4 separate regions of the Homo sapiens genome follow, and regions 1, 2 and 3 are each linked to region 4. The links are contacts of gene promoters, found by promoter capture Hi-C in blood cells and fetal thymus (Javierre and others, 2016). All regions are on one chromosome and are shown on one strand. The core of a region is centred on a gene start or on the middle of the fragment in contact, and the rest is flanking DNA. Distances in the headings are between cores, read along the strand shown. Region 1 overlaps LOC125312414 (a long non-coding RNA gene). Region 2 overlaps LOC125312414 (a long non-coding RNA gene). Region 3 has its middle 9.0 kb from the start of XCL2. Region 4 holds the start of ATP1B1 (ATPase Na+/K+ transporting subunit beta 1).

What was found. Contacts are between HindIII fragments. The CHiCAGO score rates a contact against its expected background, and 5 or more counts as called.
Region 1: a contact is called between a fragment that was not itself captured here and the fragment with the promoter of ATP1B1 in region 4, in 2 of 17 cell types (fetal thymus and M2 macrophages). The highest score is 8.9, in fetal thymus.
Region 2: a contact is called between a fragment that was not itself captured here and the fragment with the promoter of ATP1B1 in region 4, in 1 of 17 cell types (fetal thymus). The highest score is 7.1, in fetal thymus.
Region 3: a fragment that was not itself captured here is called in contact with the fragment with the promoter of ATP1B1 in region 4 in 1 of 17 cell types (fetal thymus); the score reaches 6.3 in fetal thymus.

The regions. Positions count from the first base shown.
Region 1 is chr1:168,478,076-168,485,303 of GRCh38, forward strand. It overlaps LOC125312414 (a long non-coding RNA gene), which reads right to left. Exons shown (of 8, transcript NR_176090.1): 3 at 7,168-7,228. LOC101928565 (a long non-coding RNA gene) reads right to left here. Exons shown (of 5, transcript NR_176057.1): 4 at 7,168-7,228. Among named protein-coding and RNA genes, the nearest start is that of XCL2, 62 kb to the right of the region's middle. RefSeq lists a silencer at 4,222-4,422. The HindIII fragment of the contact is 1,876 bases long and covers 3,258-5,133 here.
Region 2 is chr1:168,463,289-168,470,458 of GRCh38, forward strand. It overlaps LOC125312414 (a long non-coding RNA gene), which reads right to left. Exons shown (of 8, transcript NR_176090.1): 4 at 989-1,085. LOC101928565 (a long non-coding RNA gene) reads right to left here. Exons shown (of 5, transcript NR_176057.1): 5 at 826-1,085. Among named protein-coding and RNA genes, the nearest start is that of XCL2, 77 kb to the right of the region's middle. The HindIII fragment of the contact is 7,450 bases long and covers 1-5,448 here.
Region 3 is chr1:168,531,515-168,538,429 of GRCh38, forward strand. No RefSeq gene overlaps it. Among named protein-coding and RNA genes, the nearest start is that of XCL2, 9.0 kb to the right of the region's middle. The HindIII fragment of the contact is 1,156 bases long and covers 2,823-3,978 here.
Region 4 is chr1:169,101,665-169,108,851 of GRCh38, forward strand. ATP1B1 (ATPase Na+/K+ transporting subunit beta 1) reads left to right here and starts at 5,026. Exons shown (of 6, transcript NM_001677.4): 1 at 5,026-5,262. The coding sequence starts at 5,166. LOC101928596 (a long non-coding RNA gene) reads left to right here and starts at 2,460. Exons shown (of 2, transcript NR_135799.1): 1 at 2,460-2,829; 2 at 3,046-3,243. RefSeq lists enhancers at 3,443-4,016, 4,507-4,801, 4,590-5,162, 5,163-5,735 and a silencer at 4,074-4,993. The HindIII fragment of the contact is 9,537 bases long and covers 86-7,187 here.

The sequences.
Region 1 (7,228 bases), core at 2,946-5,445, 620 kb before region 4:
TTTTTTCCCTCTTTCAAAAATGAAGATGATACAAATGAGCTTATTTAGGACAGACACTAAAATTATCAACTGTTGAGAAGGTAAAACATTTATTTTTCTCAGTGTCTCTCTTTTTTTCCTTCTTTTCATCAGAGACACTTGAGTTAAAATTCTTACTTGCTAAGTTTATGACATTTGATAGGTTTCTTCACTTTGAGGTTTCTATCATTCTATCTGTAAAATGGGGACAACAGCGCTCACCTTTCAGATGTGGTTGCAGGTTGAGTAAGTAATATATACAAAGCATGCTGCTTTTATTTGAGTCTCATAAAAAGCTTTATAGAATTATAAAGTATTATATTCTCCCATCTTTACAGATGAGGTTCAAATTCACATGTCTTAAGTGAGAGAACCAGATAAGATTTCAGGTCTTTGTTTCCTAATTGTTTCCTATTTCACTGGCTCTTTCATTTGACTCCAGGGCTAGCAAAAACCAGTGTCCAAGCTGGGTGTGATGGCAATGCCTGTAGTCTCAGCTCTTTGAAAGGCTGAGGCACTTGAGCCCAGGAGTTGGAGGCTGACCTGGGTAACTTAATGAGACTCTGTCTCTAAAAACAAACACAAAAAACACACCAACAACAGGCAAGCAGAGAGTCAAATCATGAATGAACTCCCATTCACAATTGCTACAAAAAGAATAAAATACCTAGGAATACACTTAACAAGGGAAATGAAGGACCTCTTCAAGGAGAACTACAAACCACTGCTCCAAGAAATCAGAGAGGACACAAATAAATGGAAAAACATTCCATTCCATGCTCATCGAAAGGAAGAATCAATATTGTGAAAATGGCCATACTGCCCAAAGTAATGTATAGATTCAATGTTAAAACTCCCATTAAACTATGGTTGACATTCTTCACAGAATTACAACATATAATAAACTATTTTGAAATTCATATGGAACCAAAAAATGCCTGAACAGCCAAGAACATCCTATGCAAAAAGAACACAGCTCAAGGCATCACACTACCCAACTTCAAACTATACTACCAGGCTACAGTAATCAAAAAGCATGGTACTTGTACAAGAACAGGCACACAGACCAATGGAACAGAATAGAGAACTCAGAAATAACACCACATACCTATAACCATCTGATCTTTGACAAACCTGACAAAAACAAGCGATGGGGAAAGGATTCCTTATTTAATAAATGGTGCTGGGAGAACTGGCTAGCCATATGCAGAAAATTGAAACTAGACCCGTTTCTTACACAACATACAAAAATTAACTCAAGATGGATTAAAAACTTAAATATAAACCCCCAAACTATAAAAACCCTAGAAGAAAATCCAGGCAATACCATTCAGGACATAGGCATGGGCAAAGATTTCGTGATGAAGATGTCAAAAGCAATTGCAACAAAAGCAAAAATTGACAAATGGGATCTAATTAAACCAAAGAGCTTCTGCACAGCAAAACAAACTATCAACAGAGTGAACAGACAACCTTACAGAATGGGAGAAAATTTTTGCAATCTATCCATCTGACAAAGGTCAATATACAGAGTCTATAAGGAACTTAAGCAAATTTATGAGAGAAAAACAAACAATCCTATTAAAAAGTGGACAAAAGACATGAGCAGACACTTATCAAAAGAAGACATACATGCATCCAAGAAACATGAGAAAAAGCTCAACATCACTGATCATTAGAGAAATGCAAATCAAAACCTCAGTAAGATACCATCTCATGCCAGTCAGAAAGGCTGTTAATAAAAAGTCAAAAAACAACAGATGCCAGTGAGATTGTGGAGAAAAAGGAACACGTTTACACTGTTAGTGGGAGTGTAAATTAGGTCAACCACTGTGGAAGGCAGTGTGGCGATTCTTCAAAGACCTAGAGGAAGAAATACCATTTGACCCAGCAATCCCATTACAGGGGTATATACCCAAAGGAATATAAATCATTCTGTTATAAAGATACGTGCACGTATATGTTCATTGCAGCACTATTCACAATAGCAAAGACATGGAATCAACCCAAATGCTCATCAATGATACACTAAATAAAGAAAATGTGGTACATATACACCATGGAATGCTATGCAGTCATAAAAAGGAATGAGATCATGTCCTTTGCAGGGACATGGATGGAGTTGGAAGCCATTATCCTCAGCAAACTAATGCAGGAACCAAAATCCAAACACTGCATGTTCTCACTTATAAGTGGGAGCTGAATAATGAGAACACATGGACACATGGGTGGGAACTACACACTCTGGGGCCTGTCGGGGAGAGTGGGGGGAGGGAGAGCACCAGGAAGAATAACTAATGGATTCTGGGCTTAATACATAGGTGATGGGACATGGCACACGTTTACCTATGTAACAAACCTGCACATCCTGCGCATGTACCCCTGAGCTTAAAATAAAAGTTGAAGAAGAAACAAGCAAACCGCTAGTTGCAGAATTCTCAATATGGACTGGGCACTTCTGAGTGGGTAGTTTGGAATTTTCCTAAGTTGAATCCTAAAATGACCTCTGATCGATCAACATAATTAATGAGCTCCTTGCTGTGTGCCCAGCACTGCCAGTAGCTGCTTTAAGGGCCATAGATGTAAAATCACATTTCATGCTCTCATTGAGAAGGCAATCTAGCTGTGCTGACAATGCTGACTTCTGTGGAACAATAGTGGATATGACAAGCCAGAATATAACAAGATGTGGAGAAAGTGGTGTGCAAACTCTAAGACCTGCTGGACCAAAGAGCTGAATGAATGAGGAAAGGTGAGGCTGGGCTTTTCAAAGGCAAGATGTGAGAACTGTGTCCTAAGAAATGCATAGGATCTGGCTGGGGAAGCAGGAAATGGGGCATTTGGGGAGAGGAGATGGGGAGCAGCCTGTGGGGCAGCAGCAAAGCTGCCAAACTTCTGTTTTTCATGTACTCCATGTAAGTGTAGTTATCACAGTTTAAAAATATCTGAAGGACAGTGTCAGCAGCAATGGATTTCCACTAGATAGTTGGGTTACAGGATTAGAGCATGCAGGCTTACGCAGAGCCTGTTCCAATAGGTGACCTTGTCTGGGACTCCACATCAGCAGGGCTCATCCTGTCCTCTGTCCTGCTGTGCTCCGCTGTGGGGCCTGTTGCAGGCTGAGAATTGAAGGGGAAGAATCAAGTGCCAGGAGAGGGAGCTGGGGGAAGCCAGAGGCTGGCTCACCTGCAGAAGGGTGGGACACCTCCTAGCTGGAAGCTTGTCAAGCTTGGAGCTAAAGCTTAGTGTTGGCCACCTCTTGCTGAGAGGGAAAGGGAGGAAGTGAGAAGGGGGCACTTGTGTTCTCCCTGGGGCCTGGGATTGCTAATCTCTTTTAGGGAAGCAATGATTTGGGCTTCAGTGATAGTCTGACTCCAAACTATGGAGTTCTAAGGAAGCCAAAAGAGAAAAAGATTATCCCTGATTGAGGAGGAAGGACTCATGCTGCTCACACTCAAATAGCAACGTGAAATACAGTTTTCTTTAAACCACCCCTTAAGGAAATAACCACAAGGTTTAATATGACAGTTTTTGAGATAGTGAGAAAACTACAAACAAACTAAATGCTCAAGAATAGGGTCTTGATTAAATGAGTTATAGGGAGTTCCTATCAGGAGGTACAAAGCAAATATCAAAAGCGAGGCTGTAGAGCAGAAATCAGCGAACTGCGGCTCATGGGCCAATCTGGTGAGCTGCCTGATTTTTTTATGGCCCTTGAGCTAGGAATGATTTGACGTTTTAAATGGTTATCTAAGAGCTTACATAATAGCCTCAATTTTGCTTTGTAGCCTGCAAAACTTAAAACACTATGTAGCCCTTTAAGAAAAAGTTTGCTCACTATTGCTATAAAAGGAAATTTAATGAGATGCAAAATTTTTATTATTAATTAGGTGAGAATATAGTGTTAATTTGTGTCTAAGTTATCTGTTGCTGTGTAACTACCCTGGAATCTGGCATTTTAAGACACCTACCATTTTGCTTGCTCATTATTATGTGGGTCATGAATTTGGACAAAGCAGTGTAAGGATGTCTGGAGCCTTGGCCAGGATGATCTGAAGGATGAGGAGCTGGCTGGGATGGTTCTATGGGTAACACATGTGTAGGGATTTAATTGTCTCCATCTGTGACTGTATTCTTCTCCATGTGGTCTCTCCATGTGGCTAGCTTGGGCTTCCCTACTGCATGGCAGGCTGAGGGTAGATGGATTTCTTACATGGCAACTGGTTTCCCCAGTGCAAAAGCAGAAGCTGCCAGCCTCTTAAAGGCCAGGCATAGCTTCATTCTGCTGCATTTCACTGAATGTCCTAAAGAATTTCAAAGGTCACAAGGTCAGCCCAGATTCAAAAGAGGTGGAGAGATAAGCCTCCTCCTTTTTATGGGAGGAGCAACATATGTGCACAGAAGGCTGTGGGTGGAGCAATGTGGAGCTGTCTTTAGAGACCACCACTGTGGATAGTAAATATACACAGAAATGTACCTACATTCCACAATTTTAAGGGGATACAAAAATATAAAGGAATGGCCCTACCTATTCTATAAATTTGTGGTAGACATCTGTCATATTTACGCTTACCCGTCATCTTTGAATAACATTTTTAGATTTGAGTAAGTGAACCAATGTCTCACCTCCTTGCAGCTAGGATGCAAACATGTGAATATAATATTTTCAACAAAACAGAACAAAAAAAGTGTTAAGAAATCTTGAGCTTTGGAGCCAGACCATCTTAATTCAAATTTCAACTTTGCCACTGATTGTTCATGTGATCTCAGACTAGTTACATAATTTTATGTGCCTCAGTTCCTTCAGCTATAAAAAGGGATATTCATAGTACCAACCTTTTAGGGTTGTTTTGAGGCTTAAATGAGTTAATGTTTCAAAGAGCTTAGGATAGGCCTAGGCTCTGCCAATCAGACATAAACATGAAACTTTAATTCAAATATGAGACAGCAACTGACTCTGGATCTGTAAAGACATCCAACTTTTACCCTAGTCACAAGATCAAAATGGAATTGGTACTGGTGGGAGGAGTGGCTACAGAATAGTCTAGTTCCAGGGATTTATATGTTGTTTCCCCATTGAATTAGTTCTGTGTGATTTTGGGCATTATTCCTGAAAGCTTCAGTTCTAATCTGTTTTTCCAGCTAGTTCAATAATTCTGAGGGCAAATGTGTCTTTTAAAAACCTCCCCACCATCATTTTCCCTCTAAACTATATAGAGTGGATACAGTGGATTCTGTTGTTCCCAATTAAGAAGTGTGGCTGATATAAATGTGGTATGGTTTCAGGGATGCAAAGAAAGGCCTTTTGGACAATTTTTTATGTCTGGAATTGTAGCATCTGGGAATTTTCTCTAATGCTTTTATGTTGATATGCAAACCCTGGAAGGAAGGTGTCATATACAGAGTTTTTAATTATTTTTGTGTAAAGTGCTTTATTTGGAGCTGGAGTGGGGGCACACTAATTTGGATTCCTGTCTAAGCAGCTTGAGTCTGGAATGAGAAGTGAGATCTGTTCTGATTAATTTTTCTCCTTCCTTGTTCTCCAGAGTTGGGCAACATTACATTGTTTTGTCATCTCACATTTCCAAGGTTGCCTGATAATAACCAGAACTTGTTTTTGCCTTAAAATGTTTCACATTCTTTCCCCTGGGTGACACATAAGATTTACATAATTTCCATATTTGTCTGATTCACTTAGGCTAAATCATTCAGTAGATCCAAGAAATACCTTTGATGTCATGATTTGGAGCATACCCACATCCATCTGAAAAATGTTCAGTGGTCATTGGCAGGTACTGTCAAAAGATGCCAAGAACCTCGTGGAAGAAAATGTAAACATTTCTATACTAGAAGTGAAGCAAGAGCGGCAGCTAGGTTCACTTGAATATGTGTGTAATAGTTGTCATGAGAGGAGGGGTTGAAACTTAAAGAGGATTGTAAAAAATTTAAATGGAAGAGAAAATTTCTGGGTGGGTGGGGAGGGATTGCATAAATTGAGTGCACACCTTTAACCTATTGCAGGGACACCTTGCCAATACTCATAATGCTGCAAGAATCATGATAACAATGTTATTTCTTAAGATTCCATGAGGCAAACTACTATCATCTCTATATTACTCCATGGACACTCAGAATGGGTTATGGTGCCAGTCATTATGACCACTTTCAGGCAGATGAGTCCATCAGGCCTTCTTAGAGTGTTTGCTCTCTGCAAGATGGTGTTACCCCTGTGGATGGGGACAGAGAGACACATGGGCTAGGTAGACATGGTGAGGCACTCAGGCAACCCAGCATATCAGAGAATGGTGTTGGCTAAAGTATGGATGGGGGCAATAGAAATGGGTTGAGGGAGGGCAAAACAAAACACCACAGGTGATGAGAAGGGCCACTAAAAATAACATAAGAGCTTGTTGGAAACAGATTTCACACATGTATTTTACATTTTACTAAGAGGACACCTCTGCTTAAATGTTACAGAGGTCTGTGGCTTTTCTGTTTTTTTTGTTTGTTTGTTTGAATAGAGTATTTCTATGAAACTCTGCTTAAAAATGAGAAGCGCTGGGACCTAGAAATCAGAAGATTACACCTGGGTTCTTAGATTCATTTTTATGATCGGTGTGTCTTCAAGCCTGTTGGTTTACTTGGTTATGTCAAAAAGGTAACATCTGTAAAATGAGAAAGTAACATTCATGTTACTGTTGGTGGATATTTGATTATGAATTATAGACGAGATGATATTAGATAATTATTAATTTTTTAGGTATAATAAGGGAAAATGACATGTTGCTTGCAATTTACTAAGATACTTCAGTTTTTAAAAAAGACAGATGAATAGTGATTTGTTCATATTGTAAGTTTCAGGAGATGAATAACACCATTCTATCTACTTTTCTATCGGTTGGAAATTTTTCTTAATTAAAAGTTAGAAAAGAATACTCATCTTACTTATCTCACAGGATTGTTGTAAGTACCAAACAAGAAAATGGATGGAAAATGTTGTATAAACGGAAAAGCACTAAACAAATATGAGTAGTAGTTTTTTAAATTGTTCTTAAGAATAATACAAAAGATTACTGAGGCTTGAGTAGGCGGTTTTCCCCTCCCAGTGTTAAGGAAGCTGCCAGGAAGTTTGTACTGGGTGGAACTCACCGCAGTGCAGCAAAGCTATGGCCAGACTGCTTCTCTAGATTCCTCCTCACTGGGCAGGGCA
Region 2 (7,170 bases), core at 474-2,973, 640 kb before region 4:
GAGGGAAGGCAGCATAAGTGTGGTTATATCTAGTTTCCCTCTTGGGTGCTGGGCTGCTGGGAAAACTGGCACTTCCAGTGAATTCCTTCAGGGTTATGGAGACTGAATATCTTAATTAAGTGAGGTTGCCTTTTAAAAAGCCACTTGGATCCATTTTTATTGTGGTCTATAGTGCTTATTTCTTTGGTGTACAAATCTGATGGGAGAAGATCCATCAAAAGAAAGGGGAGGGGATAGAGGAGGAAAGAATGAGAGATGGGGCACTCTTGGTAGTGTGTCAACCAAGCCCTGGCTGCCTCAGGTACTGATTTGCACCCCTCCACTCCCTCCTCTGCCATCCAGCCTGGGGACCCCCATGCATGCCTTGTGCTTCTCAAATCTGCCTCTGCTTTCTTTCCAGGAGCCTTATTTCAACGCAACAACTTAGAGTTATTTCCTTCTCCTGTATTACTTTATTCCATCTTGACTTTCTCCCACTGTAGCAATGATCACACTGTAGTATATTAATTATCTTTTGGTTGCCTTTCCCGCTCAGTAGACCATAGTCTTGTTGGGTGGAGGGACTGTGCCTTTTTCTTGTTGCATGCATGTACTGGACACTCTAGTGATATTTGCTAAATGTTAAATGAGTGAGCAAATCCTGCCATGTGTAACCTGGCACTCATTTACCTTATTCCCCATCTCCTGAAACCTGGTTTTCCCATTTCACTAGCACAATCTTCTCTGGTGTCCAGTGTGAGAGTTGGCATAGAGTTCAGCTAGCACCTGCAGAGCCTTCCTGAGACTCCATTCTCAGAACAATCACAAAATGTGGTCATAATGAGCCAATGTCTTTTCTTTTTTTAATAGTTTAAACTTTAATTTTACATTCAGGGGTCCCATGTGCAGATTTGTTATATGGGGATTGTATTAGTCCGTTCTCATGCTGCTAATAAAGACATACCTGAGACTGGGTAATTTATAATTGAAAGAGGCTTAATTGACTCACAGTTCAGCATGGTTGAGGAGACCTCAGGAAACTTACAATCATGGCGGAAGGGGAAGCAAACACATTCTTCTTCACATGGCGGCAGCAAGGAGAAGTGCTGAGAAAAAGGGGGAAAAGCCCCTTATAAAACCATCAGATCTCATAAGAATTCACTCACTATCACGAGAACAGCATGGAGGTAACTGCCCCCATGATTCAATTACCTCCCACCAGGTCCCTCTCATGACATGTGGAGATTATAGGAAATACAATTCAAGATGAGATTTGGGTGGGTATATGTATATAGATATACCATATCAGGTATAGTGTGTGATGCGGAGGTTTGAGGTATGGTTAATCCTGTCACTCAGACAAGTGAGACAGAACCCAGTGGTTAGTTTTTCAAACCTTATTCCCCATTTCCTCCTCTCTCTAGTACTCTCCAGTGTCTATTGTGGCCATCTTTATGTCCAATGTTTAGCTCCCACATATAAGTGAGAACATGTAGTATTTGGTTTTCTGTTCCTGAGTTAATTTGCTTAAGATAATGGCTTCCAGCCACATCCAAGTTGCTGCAAAAGACATGGTGCATTTAGTGCTGCAATGAACATGCAAGTACATGTGTCCTATTTATTTTCTTTTGGATGTATACCCAGTAATGGAATTGCTGGGTTGAATGGTTAAGTTCTTTGAGAAATCTCCAAACTGCTTTCTACAATGGCTGAACTAATTTACGTTCCCACCAACAGTATATAAGCATCGCCTTCTCTCCACAGCCTTGACAGCATCTATTGTTTTTGACTTTTCATGTAATGACCCATAGGCTCAAAGTAAAGGGTCAGAGAAAGACCTATCATGCAAATGAAAAACAAAAAAGAGCAGGGGTTGCTATTCTTATGTCAGATAAAACAGGCTTTAAACGAATAACAGTAAAAAAGGACAAAAAAGGGCATTACATAATGATAAAGTTTCCAATTCAACAGGAAGACTTAGCTATCCTAAATATATATGCATCCAATATTGGAGCACCCAAACTCATAAAATAACTACTTCTAGACCTATGAAAGGACTTAGACAGCTACACAATAATAGTGGGGGACTTCAACACCCCACTGATAGTGTTAGAAAGATCACTGAGCAGAAAACTAACAAAGAAATTCTGGACTTAAACTTGACACTTGACCAATTGGACCTAATAGACACCTATAGAATACTTCATCCAGCACCCACAGAATACGCATTCTTCTCATCTGCACACAGACACAGAACATACTCCAAGATCAACCACATGCTTGGCCATAAAACACGCCTCAATAAATTAAAAAAAAATCAAAGTTATACTGACCATAATCTCAGACCACAGTGGAATAAAAACAAAAATCAATACCAAAAAGATCTCTTGAACAACACAATTCATGAAAATTAAATACCTTGCTCCTAAATGACTTTTGGGTAAACAACAAAATTAATGCAGAAATAAAAAAAATTCTTTGCAATAAGTGAAAACAGAGACACATCATACCAAAATCTCTGGGATGCAGCAAAAGCAGTGTTAAGAAGAAAGTTTATAGTGCTAAATGCGTACTTCAAAAAGTTAGAAAGATCTCAAATTAAACATCTAACATCACACCGAGAGGAACTAGGAAAACAAGGCCAGTGCCTTTACCTTGTAGCCCCAAAGAAGTCTGACCTCAAGAATTGGAATGTAGGATTTTTGAGGGAAACGGTGAGCCTGAAAGCAGTTAGGAAGTAACCTAATTCTCTAGCCACTCACAGAGGGTGCAAAATCTCAGACCAGCAAACAAGGCAGGGCAGAAAGGCACACACTATATATCAACAGGCCATGGATGGTCGTCACCATTCAGACTCTCCAATATTCCTTGTTAACAAGCTGAAATCAGATGATCCTCATTTTCACTTGAGCCCAGGGTTATAATTTCTTGGAAAGTGCAAAGGGAGGCAAACTATAATGGGAAGGAAGAGCAAGTCAACATGAATCTGAGGAAGGGGAATGCTTTTCATTCTGGTTTTTGAACAGGTGGTGGTCAGAGCTGGCAGAAAGCCCAGGATATGTCAGCAGTCCCGGAAAAGAGATGTTCTTGTTGTAAATCTCATGTTGATTCTTGCCCCTCCCTCTCCACCTCCCACTCTTACACATGCTCACGCTTCTTAGTAAGTACACTGGAGCTACCTCCCCCATGCCCCACAGCACATTGTACCTCTGCTAGCACAGGGATCACGTTCTGACTTACAGTGGTTGTGGGTGTCTCTGTCTCTTTCTCTCAAAACAAACATATTGGAGTTTCTCACTCATCGACATTTCTGCACCAGTGCCTGCAGACAGTTTTCCTCACTGTGAGGACTCTAAATACTTTCATTTACTGGAATTAGATTTACCCTTTTGGCTAAGGTGTCATATGGACAGGGGAATTACCAAGTCCAAGAGTAGTTTTGGCTTCCTGATGGGAAAGAGTTGTTGTATAACAGGAATCCTACCTAGGCCTCCTATTGCTCATTCCCAAGACAATTTCTTAGGCCCATCTTTGTCTTCCCAAATTGCCCTTATTTTTTGCCACTGCCAAGGCCCTATGGTCTCAGCTGGCTTCTCTCTCCTTTTAGGCCATTCTCCTTGCTTTGTCCCTTGGTACGCTTTAAACTTAACAGTTCCCTAAGACTGGTTCCAGAGCAAGGTCCTGCTTCCCTGCTATGTCTCATAGAGAAGTGAAACCTCTCTTGCTGCTTTTCACAGGGGAGAGAGACTGGGTCAAAAACAAAACAGAGAATCATACAAAGCTGTTCTTTAATTCCTGACTCCCTCATAAGACAGACTAGAAACTCTGGTGAAGTCTGTGATTTGCTCTTATCCATGAGGATGAGACTCTCTCAACTCCCTTCTTAAATACAGGCTGGAGGATAAAACTGAGGTCCTGCAGTTTGCATAATAGCTGACATCTATTGAGAATCTACTGACTACTAGGAACTATATAAGTTGTGTACATACTATTTTGTTTACTTTTTCAATTAACCACATGAGATAAATACTATTGTAGTTGCATTTTGTCAATACAGTAACTGAGCCTTAAAGAGATTAAGTTACATGTTCAAAATCCCCTAGCCATGAACTGATGGACTAGGGTTTATATCTTATTCGAAAAACAATAGTATTAACTAATGGTTACTCAAAAAGGATGTCTTTTAAATTCCAGTGAGAAGTTTGCATCTTTGAGAATGTTAGGATGGATAAACATCCATGTCACTGCTTCTCAATAAAAAGAACAATTATAGTATATTTTCTTATTGCTAGTCTAACCGGAAATAGTCTGGTTTATTACTTATAAACTAGTTCTTGGAACTAAGACCGTAAACCTTGACTTGGTGCAGGAAATGGTGTGGTTTTACATGCTCAGGAAACAATGACCAGAGTAAAATATTTGACAAATTTTATGCTCTGATTGAGAATTGGAGGCCTGGGGGAATACCTGAATGACTTGCATGCTGCTAAATATTTTTCCACAATATTTTTTTAATGGTTGCACGGTATTCCATTGTATGGTTGCAATATAATTTAGTTGCATGACATCTGGGCAATAGGGGAGTTTCTAAGAGCAGGAGGAATTTTAGAAAAGAGAAACTGAGTATTAGGTGTTCAGTAGCCAGCTTTTCCAGCTTTAGGAATTTTCTTGGGACTAGCTCTGTCCAAGGGGTAAACTATACATGCTGTATACTTTTCCAGGCAGGAAGGGGAAAGACCCATGCTTCTTAGTCTAGCTGCCTCCCAGAAACCTTTGCAAAGGTCATCCAACTCAATCTTGTAGTCTTGGAGAAGGCCAATTCAGATTCCAGTTCTCTTAAACCAGCTACAGAAAACATAACTTTTGTAACTCAGTAGGGTCAGGCTTATTTGTAACTTAGATTGGCTGAAGCCTTTATTAAGTGAAAAAAGATGGAAGCATAACAACATTCCTAACTGAATGCCATTCATGGAAAGAATGTCTGGAATGGAATCCTCTGTCTTGGCTAAATTTGAAAGAATAGCATATCCTGAAAAGAAGCATGAAGGAGATTATCTGATCTTACCTACTGGCTAAGGATCAAAATGTTAAGAAAAGCACACGAGATCATCTTTCTGAAGCAGGAAGAGTCTACGAATCAGACATACTGAATTAAGTCATGAACCAGAGTCATGTCCTAGAATTGTGTCCATGAACCTGGCCAAGACATTTCCTATTCCATTTCAGGTCCAAGATTCTCATAGTGCAGAGCTACCTTTCGAAACATTTAATCACAGATCTTCTTTCAGACTGGACAGTGATCATGGCATCTTTCAGGCAGAAAGAGGAGGGTTAACTTGGCTGGGAGAGGAGATAAGGAAATGTCTAACCAGTCTTCTCACCACCAAAAAACAAAACAAAACAATTCAAAACGAAACAAAACAAAAAAACTATTAGCACCTGGCACAGCACCTGTCATATAGTAATAGAAGCTTAATACATATTTTGTGAATAAATATAAAAATTAGAGGTTGAAGTAGAACTGCGGACTGTCCATTACCATGCTTGATACTTCAGTAGAATGTGTGCCAAAGAATATGGTCCCAGCTCCTCTCTGGGCTTAGGTCTGGTCTCTCCTCAGCTTCTCAGCTTTATAGGTCAGGAATTTCCCAAGCTATCATTTTACTTTGATCCTCTCAGGAACAGAAGTGAGAAAGAAGAGATGAGGTATAGCTAGAAATTTATGAGAAGGGATGGGAAGGAGAAAATAGTGCTGACTTGACCCTGTACTGACAGGGACACCTGCCCATCAGCAATGCTTTGAGCTGCAAGTAGAAGCTGGGGGGTCAGGGAGAGGCTATGTTGGTGGCTATAGAGTAACAGATGACCTGGTTGACCTTGATTATTGACCAACCTATTACAATGAAATGGTTGAGGGATTACAAGTACAGACACAAATAATTTTATATGTAATAAGTAAATTAATACTTTATATGTTTTTTTTTCTGGGAAGATGGAAAGCTGTTTGTTAGAGCAAAGAATTCTAATAGTGCCACATGTGTAATAAAAATCAGATTCATGACCATGACCTTCAGTTCCTGCTTTATGTTGGATTAGCCTTGGGCAAGTCAAATAAACTAGAGAAAAGAGTATTTCCATTTTCCTCTGTAAAACCAAGTTGGCCCAAACGTATATTCCTCCTTTTATATGATTAGTGTGAGCGTTCAAGCTGGGTGGAGGCAGGGCATCTCTTTTGTAATAAGTTGTCACCAGAAAGTCTCATTTTGTTGAGAAGAGAAACCCCTGCAATTGATGGGACTTGGAACAAACTTTCTGGGACACTAAATGGCAGGAGAGCCAGTGTTTTAAGAAGTCATTTCTGTCCTGGTTTGTTATTAAACTGTGGAGCTTCCTTTTCAAGATAGTAAAGATAGTAATAAGTCATGTAATACAAATTGATTCAAAAGGAGACTTAGGGGCTTACAGAATCCCAAGACAGACAAGCATTAAAAGTGCCTGCGGATCCGGCAGGAAGCCAATCCCCAGATGTTACTTTTGGCTGGGAAGGGTGAGGAGGAAGCGGTGGCCTTGCTCTGGCTTAATCTGCAGTGACAACCGTGGCGAGCATGAGTCACTCTGGGCCTCATCTGAACCCTATCTTGGCATCTTGCTTGTGGAGAGGCAGTGCTGTATAATGGTTCAGAGCAGGCTTTGGAACAGACTGCCTGGACAAGCTACTTAATTGCTCTGTTCCTTAGTTTCCTCATCTGCAAAGTAGGGGGAAATAGCAGCACCTACCTCGCTGGGTTGTTGTGAAGTTTAAATAAATTAATACATGTGAAGTACTTAGAACATTGCCTGGCACATTTGCTAGATGGTCAATAAATGTTGCATATTATTTTATATGGGCTATTTCTTCAGTTCAGTATTCTGAGTCTCTAATCTGAGAAACTTGGTGGCACAAATATTTCCTAGTTAGGCAAGCACTTTGTAATGTTTTTAATTTGTAATAGAAAACAAGGATAACTTAGCAAATGAATACCCACAAGCAAACACTGCACTTCATTTTAACCAGACAATCCAATATCTTTCCCTAGCACACTTTTGTTCTGAGAGGGAAATCAAAGAAACTAGAGCTTTCTTTCTTTCTCTTAATCCTGCATACCTTCCACTGTAGGTACCAACTGTCATTTAATAAAAGCTCTGCAGCAG
Region 3 (6,915 bases), core at 2,151-4,650, 570 kb before region 4:
CTAATCCAGTGTCCTTTTGATTTTACTATATTTATCACCACACAGCCAGTTAGTGGCAGAATGAGTGCAGGCCCCAGGCCATTGATACAAGTCAAGTAATATCAAGACAGTTTCCTAATTCAAACACAGGCATCTGCCACTAAAACTGGATGGCTAATCTTACCTTCTCCTTGTGAAGCAAGGAGAATATTGGGCAACCAGGGCATATTTCACCTGTGTCACCTCTGAAGAGCTCCACTTAAGTAGTCATTCTCTCTTCTCTCTGATGTCTCTATATCCTGTCCCACTTCTGAGTTAGGTGCAGGAACTGTGGTTGCTGTGATTGTACTTTCACATGTAATCCACCAGCAAAGATTGAGAAAAATCACTTTCTCTTCTGATATACTCATTACCCTGTAATCTAGGGAAAGCGGAGGGGGTAATCTAATTATCTTAGTCTTACTCTGAACCTGTTGTGTGTTATTTCCCCAGATGGCCAATAATTGGTCTTAGGCAGTGCTTACGTGTGAAGGTGACACATCTCAAGGTGAGCTGTTCTGGTGGGAATTGCTCTCTGGTGGGAGCATGTTCTTACTTCTTCAGGTTTCAGAGAATTCTGGCATGCTGCCCTTCTTTCCAGAGCTAATGAGGCATGGATAACCATTCCTTTTACAGTTGCTCTGTCTGACATGGATGGCATCATTGTCTGGCAACTTGATGAAGTATATATTTTGGAGGTGAATGCATGAGATGTGGGTTCTGATGGCCTACCTCAAGTCCTGGCTTTGCCACATAGTTGGATGACTTAGGCCAGTCACTTTATCCTGTCTGCATCTCAGTCTGTTCATGAATACAATGGACACGATCATACCTGCTGTTTTCCCTTACAAGGCTCTTAGGAGGATCAAATAAGGTAAGGGATGTGCAAGTGCCCATAGTGCCAGAGAGTTCTATAGTGTAAGCATCACTAGGCTCTATAGCGTAAGTCAGAGAGCTGACTGGGGTGGGGAGGCAGAGAGCAGGGTGGGGAGATGAGTGGGATTGTCTATCACAGGGTCCTGAGGCCCTCTTGGGGATTCCTGGCAATGAGCTTTCGAGCCAGGGTTGGGAGGGTAGGTGGGAGGTGCGGAGTAGAGGGATGGGGTTGGGGGACTCCTGCCAGGTGGAGAGGCCCCAGATGCAGCCTCAGCTTCCCACAAGATCCCTAGGTGCTATCAGTATGGGAATGCAACTCCTGAGCATCTGGTACCCATTCTCAGAACTTTTGCCTCCTACTTCTAAGGCCACTCTCATGGGATCCTTATTTTTTAAAAAAGAAGAGCAACAGGGAGTAGGACCTCTCTTGTAGACAGAGAAAAACTAGAGCAAAACTCTTAATGTGTTCAGTTGTGCATGACCAAGCATCTCCACAGAGTTTCAAGAGACGGGAGGCTGCATGCCTTATTCCGTGCTGACCCTTCTGTCTATGAATTTCAGCCCACACCGTGGAGTATTTGCATGATGTTCACCTGAGCTTCTCCCTTAGTGGGGGCGAGCATGGGACACTAAGAATGGAAGATGAATGTGTGTCTCTGACTATGTGTCTTTGTATTCCAGAGCCAAAAAATAAATACCCTGCAATGTGCTTGCTTTACGGTGCAAGCTTCCTTTAATTTTTGGTGTCACTCATCAAGTGTTGAGAGTAATAATTATTTATAGTGTTTATAACTGCTTTTGGCATCATGCTGCTTCAATATTCCTGATAGGGGGAAGGGAAGAGTCCTGTGGAGAGGAGGTGGGTATAAGAAAAAACTGGTTAAGGATTTTAGAGCTCGAGGATGGAAGGAACCTTGGAGAACATTTCTTCTCACCTTTTCTCTCTTCTGGTAAGTGGTCCTCCAGACTCTGCCCAAACACATTCAGTGATGCATAATTTACTGCTTCTCAAGTCAACCTGCTTCCTTTCTGGACAATTGCAATGGGATAAAATAATTTATAGAGTTATGCTGAAATATGCTTTCTTCTATTTTCAATTCTTTGGTTTTAGTTATATCCTAAAGGTATTGTCTCTCTAAAAGGATCAACCCTACATGACGCATTCAAGAGACATTGTCATAATAGTCCTACTGTTGCCTATAGGGATTCAATCAGAGTTTCAGGCATGGTAGAACCTGAAATTTCTCTAATAAGCAGTTTTGTAGATACCCTTTATGAGTTATGTTAGAGGAAGTTTCAGTAGAACCTGCAAAATGGTAAGGAAAGGGAATCCCAGATAGCGGTGGGATCTATAAAATTCAGGAATATTTAAAAAATCCTTAAGACAATGTACAAAGGACCCATTTATTGCCCACATATTATGCCAGACACAGTTCTGGCGCTGTGTCTACAGTGGTAAACACAATAGGCAAAGTACCTGCCCTCCTGAAGCATACCTTTAAATGAGCACAAGACCCCAAATCAAATGAGTAAACTAGTCAGTATCGTAAAGCGATAAACACTATGAAGAAAATGAATAAGGCAATGAGATAGACAGCAACTCTGTGTTTATCTGTAATTTTGAAATAGGAAAATATATCAGATTATTTTTCTTTGTGAGTTATTCTTTGGGAATATAGTTATGGAATCTTTCCCTCACCCAGGTGTAATAAAGATATTCTCCTATGTCTTCCTTGTTTCCCTTCCTTCCTTCTTTCCTTCCCTCCTTCCTTCTTTCCCCTTCTGCCTTCCTTTCCTTCCTCTTTCCTTCTTTTCCCTTCCCCCTTCCCTTCTTTTCTTTCTTCTTGCATTTAATGTATCAGAAGTCTATTTTTATACATGGTGTGAGGTAGGAAACTTATTTTATTTTTCTCTGTAAAATAAGCAAAAGCTTCCAGCAATATATTGTGAATAATATACCTTATTCTCATCTGATCATAGTTTATATATACACATACATACACACATATGTATGTGTGTGTATGTAGATGCATAATTTATAAACATGATTCTGAGCTTTCTATTGTTCTCGTTGTTAATCTCTAAATTAACACTACTGTGTTTTTTATTATCACAGCTTTATCTTATGTCTTAATATTTGATAGGGGAAACATTTACTCTTGGTTTTTCTTTTCCTAACTTGTTTTAGCTATCTGTGAATGTCTTTGTGTCATATAAATTTAAAAATTGTATTAGAAAGTTTTGCCCAAAAACTCTGTGGAAATTTTAACTGGAATTGCATTGAATAGTAGATTGATTTGGGGAAAACTGATATCCTTACAATGTTTGTCATCTGGTTCGTAAATATTTGCATCTTTTTTGTCCTTTAATAGAGCCAAATATTTCTTTTATATTAAAGCAATATAAATATATTATGAAGCAGAATGCAAAATCATCACAAATTTTAAGATAAATAATGGAACTTCAAGGGACTGTTACACTTCCAGTGTATTATAACTCCTTGCTACCAAGGCTTTCTTTTCTTTAGGAGAGATCTCTCTCCTCTGCCCTTGAGACTTGGCTGGACAAGTTTTGCCCTTATACATCATCCTGCAAGCAAACTCTCTCCTGAGTGGTTAAGTAGGTGGCTACTGGAGTCAGATCAGTTGTATTCAAATCCCTAATCAACTATTTATTAGCTGTGTAACCCTGGACAAATGCTTTAACCTTCCCAAATTCTTAGTTTTGTCAGTAGCAAAATACAGAATCAAGTAAGATAATGTGTGCCAAACGTTTAGCAGAGTGCTGGAGATGGAATAAGTGCTCAGCAAATGTTAGTGACTATTATAAGCAATTTTAAGCTATACTTGTTATGCTCTAACACATGGGCATGTGACTGTACCTGTCAATAAAAAAACAGAGAAGAAATATTTGCCCTATCAAACATTAAATGAGGTTTCTGAGGCAACTGCAGTCTAAAGCTATTCCTTGTTCTCTTCAAAATGCATAACTATTAAAAAAATCAAATGTGTGAGGTTAATCTCAATAAGCAAAAAACTAAAACAGACTACAAAAGAGTAAAGTTGAGGCATCTGGTAGGAGAGAAGCTTATACAATATTAAGTTTTTAATAGAAAAGAGATAAAAAGCTTTGCAATGGGAATTGTGAATGATTTTGTGGCCTAAGTTATAATATCCAGAATGAAAGTAGAGGCCAAGAGGCTAAGAGAGAAATCCTATAGTTATTACTTAGCAGAGTTTTCACTACTCTTGGCTTGGGGCAAGGGCAGAAGCAACAGGAAGGAAGGGTTGAAGGGTGTTTTATTATAAAGTTAAGCTGCAGTTGGGCAGGAAACCACAATGTCGAAGACATTCTCTTGAAGGAACTGTTAAGGTAACACCAAGAGCAAGTGATAATACTGAAGTCAGTGAAAGGGACTGCCAATGCAGGAGCTACTTCTTGAATTACCTAAAAAGTTGATGTACCACTCCCATTAGGGGGGATCAGGGTCCACAGATATCAGACTTTTAGGATAAATCAACTTTACTGCCACTGGAACTTTGAATAAACATCCAGGGTTAAATAAATTACTAATCAGTAGTAGTTGAAAGAAGAGGAAGACAGTCTATGCCTGGGGAAGTTTCATTTTAATTTTGAAATCAACAGTTATTTTTTAAAACTGTTACAATGTAAGGGCAGGTAATTTGTGTCAAATGGCTGTTTATAAAACTCTTAATGAAATCATATTTTTATCAAAAATGTATAATTATGATGGGTTCTAACAATGTATTATTTATTATTTCTTTCTCTTATCCATACCAGAAAACAGTTTAACTGCAGATCAAATTGCTAATACGATTAGTGCCTAGTGGAAATAATGAAATTGAAAATGTAAAGAATCAGGAGTACATAACCAGTTTCTAGGGGCATGCATTTATGAATTCAAATTATTAAGAAAATAGCATATATATATATATAGTTGATACACTGGATATTATACTAAGTGTTAAACTTTCCACTGAATCATTCCCATTAGTGTACAAACTTGTTATTTTTTCTCTCATGTAAAAATCAAAATAAACAAACAAAACACCATCTCTTGACTACACTTCCACTTCAGCTGTAGTTCTTTTTCTCTGCAAGCTTCTTTTTCTCTCCAAGCCTCTATAGTGATGCTTATGAGACAACTGTCGTCTAAAATTATTCTCTTTAAAGAGTTGTCATTAATTCTTCTCCCAGGCCTTCTCAACCCTTCTTCAAAAGTTTCTGCTCTTACCAATCCACTGACGCTTTTCCCCTTATAGTCATTCTGTGACAGCCATGCTGTTAAATCCAACTATTTTTAAGTTCTAATTTCTGACTTATTTACAGCATTTGGCAAAGTTGCTCACTCTATTCCTGCAAACATCCTCCTGCCTTGATTTCCAGGATACCACACAAGATTGGGTTTCCTCATATCTTTCTGACTTCTTCCCAGTTTTCCTTGCTGGTTCCTCCTCATCTTCCCAATCTGTGTCCAAGGCTCAGTCCTTGAACATTTTATATTTTGATCAACTCTACCTACATGCTTTGCCCATTATCAAGGCTTTAAGTGCCACATATAAGCTAATGACTCCAAAATTAGTATTTCCAGCTTAGACACGTCCTCTGGATTCCTGACCTAGCTATCTGACTACTTGACATTTTCATATGGATGTCTACTAAGCACCTAAACTTAACATGACCAAAACAGAGCCCCTAATATTCTCCCGAAAACCAGCAACTACTGCATTTTCCCACCTCAGTTAATAACAACACATTCTGCTAGCTTTTGAATGTGTTTGCTCTTGCTTCTCTAGTTCTTTTAATTGTGCAGTTAGGGGGTCAATTTTAGATCTTTCCTGCTTTCTCTTGTGGCATTTAGTGTTATAAATTTCCCCCTACACACTGCTTTAAATGTGTCCCAGAGATTCTGGTATGTTGTGTCTTCATTCTCATTGGTTTCAAAGAACATCTTTATTTCTGCCTTCATTTCGATATGTACCCAGTACCCAGTAGTCATTCAGGAGCAGGTTGTTCAGTTTCCATGTAGTCGAGCAGTTTTGAGTGAGTTTCTTAATCCTGAGTTCTAGTTTGACTGCACTGTGGTCTGAGAGACAGTTTGTTATAATTTCTATTCTTCTACATTTGCTGAGGAGTGCTTTACTTCCAACTATGTGGTCAATTTTAGAATAAGTGAGATGTGGTGCTGAGAGGAATGTATATTCTGTTGATTTGGGGTGGAGAGTTCTGTAGATGTCTATTAGGTCTACTTGGTGCAGAGCTGAGTTCAATTCCTGGATATCCTTATTAACTTTCTGTCTCGTTGATCTGTCTAATGTTGACATTAGACTCTATGGAAATTTTAACTGGAATTGCATTGAATAGTGGGGTGTTAAAGTCTCCCATTATTATTGTGTGGGAGTCTAAGTCTCTTTGTAGATCTCTAAGGACTTGCTTTATGAATCTGGGTGCTCCTGGATTGGGGGCATATATATTTAGGATAGTTGGCTCTTCTTGTTGAATTGATCCCTTTACCATTATGTAATGGCCTTCTTTGTCTCTTTTGATCTTTGTTGGTTTAAAGTCTGTTTTATCAGAGACTAGGATTGCAACCCCTGCTTTTTTTTGTTTTCCATTTCCTTGGTAGATCTTCCTCCATCCCTTTATTTTGATCCTATGTGTGTCTCTGCATGTGAGATGGGTCTCCTGAATACAGCACACTGATGGGTCTTGACTCTTTATCCAATTTGTCAGTCTGTGTCTTTTAATTGGAGCATTTAGCTTTGTTCTTTTGGCTTAGGATTGTCTTGGCAATGCGGGCTGTTTTTTGGTTCCATATGAACTTTAAAGTAGTTTTTTCCAATTTTGTGAAGAGAGTCATTGGTAGCTGGATGGGGATGGCATTGAATCTATAAATTTCCTTGGGCAGTATGTCCATTTTCATGATATTGATTCTTCCTATCCATGAGCATGGAATGTTCTTCCATTTGTTTGTGTCCTCTTTTATTTCATTGAGCAGCG
Region 4 (7,187 bases), core at 3,776-6,275:
TTATTGAGATTAGCCTCTCAGAAGGGTGTCTGCTCATTGCCTTTTAAGCAGATGGAAAATTCTGGAAAGGAACTTTATTTTTTGAAGCTTAGAGGAGGTGCCGGTTGGTGCCAATTTTCCAAGGATAAAAACCAAATTCAACTAATTTACCCCCCACTGGGGGAGTACAAAAAAGCAGGCAAGCTAAGTCTGAAAGCTCTAACAATGGTTTAGCACCACTTATCCATGGGCCTTCAGGCCTACCACCTACCAATCATGCAAGTAAGTTCAGATTATTGCAAAGACCGGACACCTCTGCGGTCCTGCTAGAACAAACCAAACAAAAATCATTCTCTGTGTGTCTTCTTTTCTGTGCCTGCCTTGGTCACCTCCACTATCCACGTTTAATAATTTGGCAAAGGACATGGCAGGTGGAGAGAAATCCCAGTATTCTCACTATATCAGGGATGCTTTCTGGACGTCCTCTCAGGAAACAGGAAACAGCACAGCAGAAAACAACTTCTGGGAGTCTGCTAGTCAAGGCCTGGGAGCCAAGGTGTTGAGCGGGTAACCTACCACTCCCACTGATGACACGAATGGTCCGCTTACCAACATCCCTAGCAAAAAAAAAAAAAAGTCCTTTTTTTGTTATTTCCATACTATGTCCTCACACAAGGATTCGATTCCAGATCCAGTAAAATAGGAAAGTGCCAGAACAGAATGCCTTCAGATGAAAGAAGTGAACGGATAGGGTTTAAACTGCAGCAGTGCTAAATTATTGTTAGAAACCAGAACCATTTTGGAGAATGATTTGGTTTTCTGTCAAACAGGCCAGGTCCATTGTGCAGCACAGAATGAAGCCCCGGAGCAATCCGGCATCCTTCTGTGATGGTAAGGCACTCAGCCCAGCCCCATGTTAGGTGCAACCCAGGTATCTATGCATGTCCTGGCCAAGGTGGCAAGTCCAGCAGCATTTCCCAGAGCTCGTCCTCTCCCAGCCCTCTTTGTCTTCCATTGCAGAGCTGTGCATTCCACTGCAAACAGAGCCTGCCATTGAGCCATTTTTCTCTGCACTGCACATAGTTTCTGCTGCCAGGATGAGTCACCATGCAACACATACCCTCATCCCCTCCACGCTGTACTTAAAATACTCTAGGGCTGGCCAAACAGAACCCCACTGTGAGTGAGCACGTGTGTGAAGGTGGGATTGGCAGCTCAGCCCTGCGGAGCCCTCTGAAGAGCAGTCTGCATTGTGTTTGGCAGAGAGATTCAGAGAGCCAATATTTGGGGAGGGGCAGAGAGGGGAAGGTCTGTTTTTCAAATCTGGTTCGACCTCATGCAGCCTGCCAAGTTGCGCCCTCTCTTTTGCAGGCACCCCTCACTTTAGCTTCTCTGAACAGAAGGATCTTACTGCTAGGGGTTGATTTGTCCTGCCTCTTCTCCCAGCCCAGCTTCTGACTGGCCACCTTGCTACAAACAGGACTGCTCTGTCCTGCTTTTACCTGCCAGCCTGTCTGCCTCCAGCGTAGATTTTTCTTCAATCGCAAGAGCATCTATTCATTTCCTGAGTTAGAACATGTCATCCTCACTGGGACGGAGGTCTCTCACCGCTCTCCTGCCATTCCTGCTCTCCGCTTCCCCTCATCCACCCACAGAGCACTAACCTTGGGCAGAACCAATCACAGGACTCCAGAACCATGCCTCTTCCCCAGCCTGCACTGAAAAAAGGGATTAAAAATTGTTCTCTTCCTCCTGAGCCTTTAAACTGAACTGAATAATTTCTTTCTCCTTTCTGCAGAGAAACACTGGGTTTCCATACGCATTGACTGAAAAGTTGTCTTAGTTCCCCATGGTCCACACCCTCTTCCACGCCCAGCCACACACTCCACCTGCCGGGGCACCCCTCCCTTTGGAGAACCACACATGTTCGGCTTTCAACCTGCTGCTACAGCACCCTTCACAGAAGGGGCCTTGGAACAAAAGCCCAGCTCAGCACAGCCCAACGGGACATAAAGTACTTGAGTTATTCATTACTTGAGTTGGAGGAGGTCACACAGCAGGAAGCGCACTGGAAAGCAAGGGGAAAGGTGGCAGAGAGGGTGGGGAATGCGTCAGGGTGACCTTCTAGGGGCTGATGGGAACTCAGAGTCCTGGTATGGGGTGGGTATCAGAGTGGGAAGGTGACAAAGTCATAGCAACAGCCCCAAGGTTAGCCAAGGTCAAATGGAAACAGCTGATTATAATTAAGCTAGCTACTTAGCTCTTGCCATGCCTCAGGCACTGTGCTTAACACTTTCCCATATCGCTCCTTTTATCCTTGCAATAATGTATCACTTCAATTTTATGACTGAGGGAACAGCCCTGGAGAGAACAAGTGACTTGCCCAAGGTCACCCAGCTAGCATGCATGTTCTGAAGCTGGGAAGGTGAATGTAGGTCTTTACCAGCTTGTTCTGTGTGATGAAGTGGTTAGATGAGTGGTACAATTCCAGATGGTCTAGAGTGGCGGGGCAAGTGGAGTCTGAGATGAGCTACTGAGATAAATCTGGTTCCTATAGGGCTGAGATCATGTTTTCCAGCAGCAATCCCAGGACTGGGTGGAAACCTGGAGGTTTTCAGGAAGGCTGGAGGAGGCTGGCTTAGGATGAGCTGCTGCATTGGCTGTGCAGACGTGACCCTCAGGACTTCATCTGAACCTGTGAAGAGTTTCCATGCAGGGAAGGGGGGATGAGTAGAGCTAGGGACCTAAAATTTGAGAGGGGAAGATATTCCCCAGTGGAAGACAGTAAATCAAAGACTAGAGACCAAGCATCAGTCTACTGGGTGTTTGCTACACCTCTGAAGAGCTAAGGTAGGACACTTGTTTTAGGAAAAAAGAAAATCTGTCACTGGAGACTCTCTTTATATATTTTGTCTTACCATATGCTTCTTTTGGAAGGGGGGTTGGGAATCAAGGTACAGGAACGGAGTGGGCACAAGTAAGGGCACCACCAACTCCCAGAACCGCCTCATCCCTTCCCATGCTACCCTTTCCCCACTCATCTCTTTTTGCTGATTCTGCCTACAGGTTTTCCCTCCTGTTACAGTAATGGACACTCAACAACACATACCCTTCCCAGCAACCTGTCCTGCTGGAAAACTACTCGATAAGGTAACTTCTGCCTGAAGGGGACCAGGGTCATCATACCCGCAAGTGCAGCATCTTCCTGCAGCTCTCATACTACCAAGCTGGGGTTTTTCCAACATAAACATTACAGGTGCTAAACGAGAGGTGGCTTCCTTTCTCAATAAGCTGTTCTCTCTCTCGGATGCCCTTGACAGAGCCCTGCAGCCTCCCCCACTGGGGCTTGGTGGATAGGTGGTCGCTTCTCCCCCGAATTTCAGGAATGTTTAGGTTTGCACAGGTCCTGCAGGCGAGCTTGGAGAAGGATTAGAAAAATGCTCATTCTTAATCAGTTCGGGCTTGTCTTTATGCCAGCGAGGTTGACCTTGGGGACAGAAGGGTGGCCAGGATAAGGACAAGCATCCTGGTATTGGGGAATTCTCTGATATGGGGCTGGGACGTCAAGATGGGCCATGATGGCCCCTGGGGATAGGGCTTCTCTGCAGTGGAAGCAGAAGCATCCCGGTGTTTTCTGCTGTGTCACTGTCCTCAGAGGGATGTATAAAGCTGCTTGGGGGCTCATAGGAGAGGGATGAAACCAAGAGTTTGGCTTTCCAGCAACAGCGGACAAAGAGTGGGAAGGGGTACTCTATGCCCCAGGTCTGCAACATCTTGCCCTATGCGCTAGGTTTTCCCAAAGGTCCTTTGGCTCCAAGAATTTTACAGCAGAACAAAGGGATCGATACCCCCAAGGGGGCATAAAAGCATGCCAATGAGAATACCCGCCGCCGACCGGGCACCAAGAAAGTCCTCGGTGGCTGGGTCACGTGCAGATATTGTTGCCTGGGGTCTAGACTGGCCTGAGTCTCAATTGGTTTCTACGGGACAACTCACTGCGGGCTACCGCCCTGGGTGGGTTTGGCAATTGTCCTGCTCGAGGTGGTTCAGGCCGCCCACAAGGGGCACAGCCGGGCAGTCAGGAACCGGGGCTGCCGGCTGGGCTGGCCTGCAAAGAAGAGGGAAGGGCCGGAACTGCAACCGCAGTGGCGGGGAGTGCGAGGGGGCGGCAGGTGCAGGAGCGGGAGGCGGGGCGGAGCTGGGCAGAGTCCTCGCCAGTCCGGCGTCCCGGAGTGACCTTCCCCCACCCCGCCAGCGCCCAGGAGGGGTGGACCCACAGCCCAGGGAGGCCGAAAGCGCGGGCGGGCAGGCAGAGGCGTGGAGGCTGGGCCAGGACTGCCGGGCTGGGGTCCTCGAGGCTCCGGGCGACCCAGGTGCGGATCCCCCAGCCACGGAAGGGGCGGTTCACGCCCAGCCGGGAGCTGGGAGGGGGCTGCGCGGCGCTGCCTGCGCGTCCCTCACCGCCGCCCCCGCCTCCTCCTCGCCCCGCGCCCAACGCCCCGCGCCCAGCGATCCAAGCGGCCCCTCTAGCCCCGGCGGCTCCTTTGTGCCGGCCCCGAACCCGCCCTCTCGGGCCGAGTCCCTGCCCCTGGCGCCGGCGATTGGCCACCGGGCCGCTAGAGGGCGGGGCGCACGGCCGCCGGGGCGCGGTATATAGTAAAGGTAGGGCGGGCGCAGCCAATTCCTCGGCTCCTGGCGGGAGTGCCGGTGGCGCCCCGCAGTCCGCTTGTCCGTCCTTCCCTCTCTGACTCTCCTACCCCGGGCCTGTCTCTGCAGAGGTCAGGGGAGGCGGGGGCCCAGCACACGTCCCCAGTGGCAGCGGGAGCGGCAGCTACGGGTTCGCGGAGCCCCCGACCCCCCAAGGGCTAGAGGAGCGCTCGGCGGACCAAAGAAAGCCCGCGAGCGGCTGCGCGCCCACCAATAGGTGCGGGGCTCGGAGCCGCGCAGCCTGCGCCGTCCCTCCCTCCGCCCCCGCCCCGCCGCCGCCGCCGCCGCCGCCTCCCCCTCCTCCTGCTCCTGCCTTGGCTCCTCCGCCGCGCGTCTCGCACTCCGAGAGCCGCAGCGGCAGCGGCGCGTCCTGCCTGCAGAGAGCCAGGCCGGAGAAGCCGAGCGGCGCAGAGGACGCCAGGGCGCGCGCCGCAGCCACCCACCCTCCGGACCGCGGCAGCTGCTGACCCGCCATCGCCATGGCCCGCGGGAAAGCCAAGGAGGAGGGCAGCTGGAAGAAATTCATCTGGAACTCAGAGAAGAAGGAGTTTCTGGGCAGGACCGGTGGCAGTTGGTGTAAGTACGGGGTCCGCAGCTCCCGGCCGCCGCGTCTGATCTTTCCCGGGCGGCGCATCCCCTGCGCAGGGTCCGCGGCCGGTTCCGCACCCACCGCGCTGGCCGGGGTGGCGGGGGCGAGGGTGGTGGACGCTGCTGGGTCGCGCCGGCCTGGGCTTGCAGTCCTGTGCGGAATGCGGTGTCCCCAGAGTGGGGCGCAGGGTCGGGGCTGGAACACGACAGGCGGAAGGTTATGCATATCGTAGCGATCTTGGCTTGGTAATTTGCAGTCTTTCCTACCGTGCATCGGTTGAGCCTTTTACTCCTGGGAATAGTCAGGCTCTGCGAGACTACATTTGTCTCTCCCGTGTCCTGAGTCCTTAAAAAAAAAATGAGATCTGGGGTCTTGAGAGAACCTCGTGAGGTGATGGGATCTAATGCAGACGAGGTTGTGTGTTACAGCATCTTTCTTCTAGTCTAAATACGTATCTCAAAAGAGAGGAAAGAGAAGGGTGGAGAGGAATCCATCCACACTGTAGTATTTCACAGCGATGGCTAAGGATTTCCCTCCATGACCTCCCCTGGAGTCATCACCACCCAGAAATGGTTCAATAAGCTCCATTTCAGGACTCCGATTCTTAGCTTTGGCCCGAAACCTGGCAAAGTCTGGTTGTTTTCAAGGTCTACACAGACAGTTGTGGATCAGTCAGTAGGTTGGGTTGATTATGGTGAAGGGAATATAAACGCAGAGCAGCTGATCTTAAAATATTTTGTGCAGCCTGTTGCTTGGTTGGATAGACTTTTTTCCATCGAAAATTAGATTTCTTGTTTTCAGCCTCTCCGGAAAGGTGACTTTTTTTTTTTTAAAAAAAAGGTCATTTTGAAGGGCAGAGTTGTAGGCGAATCTATGAGTCGTGACTGCGTGAGGGAAGGAGGGAGGGAACTCCCCCTGCTGCATCACTGCCCCCTCCTCCTCCAACATCATCATCATCATCATCATCATCATGACCATCACCACCAACACCACTGGCACCACCACTGCAGTCATTCAGGGAGTCCTGAACAGAGGCCGATTGGTGTTCCTGCTTGGGAGGATCTGTGGGAATCGGCAGGAGAATGAGTCAGGGAAATAGTGCTTAGCTGACATTTTGAAATGGAAGAAGCTGGAATATATGAATTTTTGTAAAGAAAAAAAAATGCAGCCTGTGAGTCTCTCTTGATTGAAAATTAAAGGGTTAATAATGCATCACACTTCAAGGTTAGTCAAGGTGAAGCGTCTTTCCAAGGTGTTACTGGGAAGCATAGGTATCCCTGAGCCATGGAAAATGTAGTTCTTTAATGGCTTTTAGCTTTTGTTTTATATTTTATTTTGGGGAGACTTCTTCATTGAGATTATTGTCATAGTGTCTCAGGCATAAAGGTAGTTTCCTGTGTTTTACTGTGGAAAGGAAAACCTGAAGAACTGTGGGGTGTGTGTAGAATGAACAGCTCCCTGGCAACTCCTTGTAACTTGAGGGAGGCCTGGAAGGTGCACTGCGGTATGGGCACCCTTCTCCCCAGGTTAGCTGGGGCTTCCTTCTCTGGTGGTCTGACCCTGCTGCGTCACAGGGGCAGGGGCTGCATTGACTCTAGGCACATTGTGAAATTTGCCTTCTTGTCTTTTTCCCCTTAGTATAATATGCATCTTTGCTCATTCCAGTTTCATGCTTCTCAGAATAATACTTGCTTTAGAGGGTAAGGCAGTATGGACTGACTCATTTTTAAGCCGACATTTAATGGGCAGCACCTCCATGAGAGAGAGAAAGAGAGACCGTGTGTGTCAATTTTTATGTCTTGATATCCTATCCAGCAAGCTATCAGTATGCTGATTTGTGAATGTAGACCCAGGACTGCTGTACTTGCCTCCTCTTCCCTTCCATGTTCCACGGTACAGGTGCTGGGCTAAA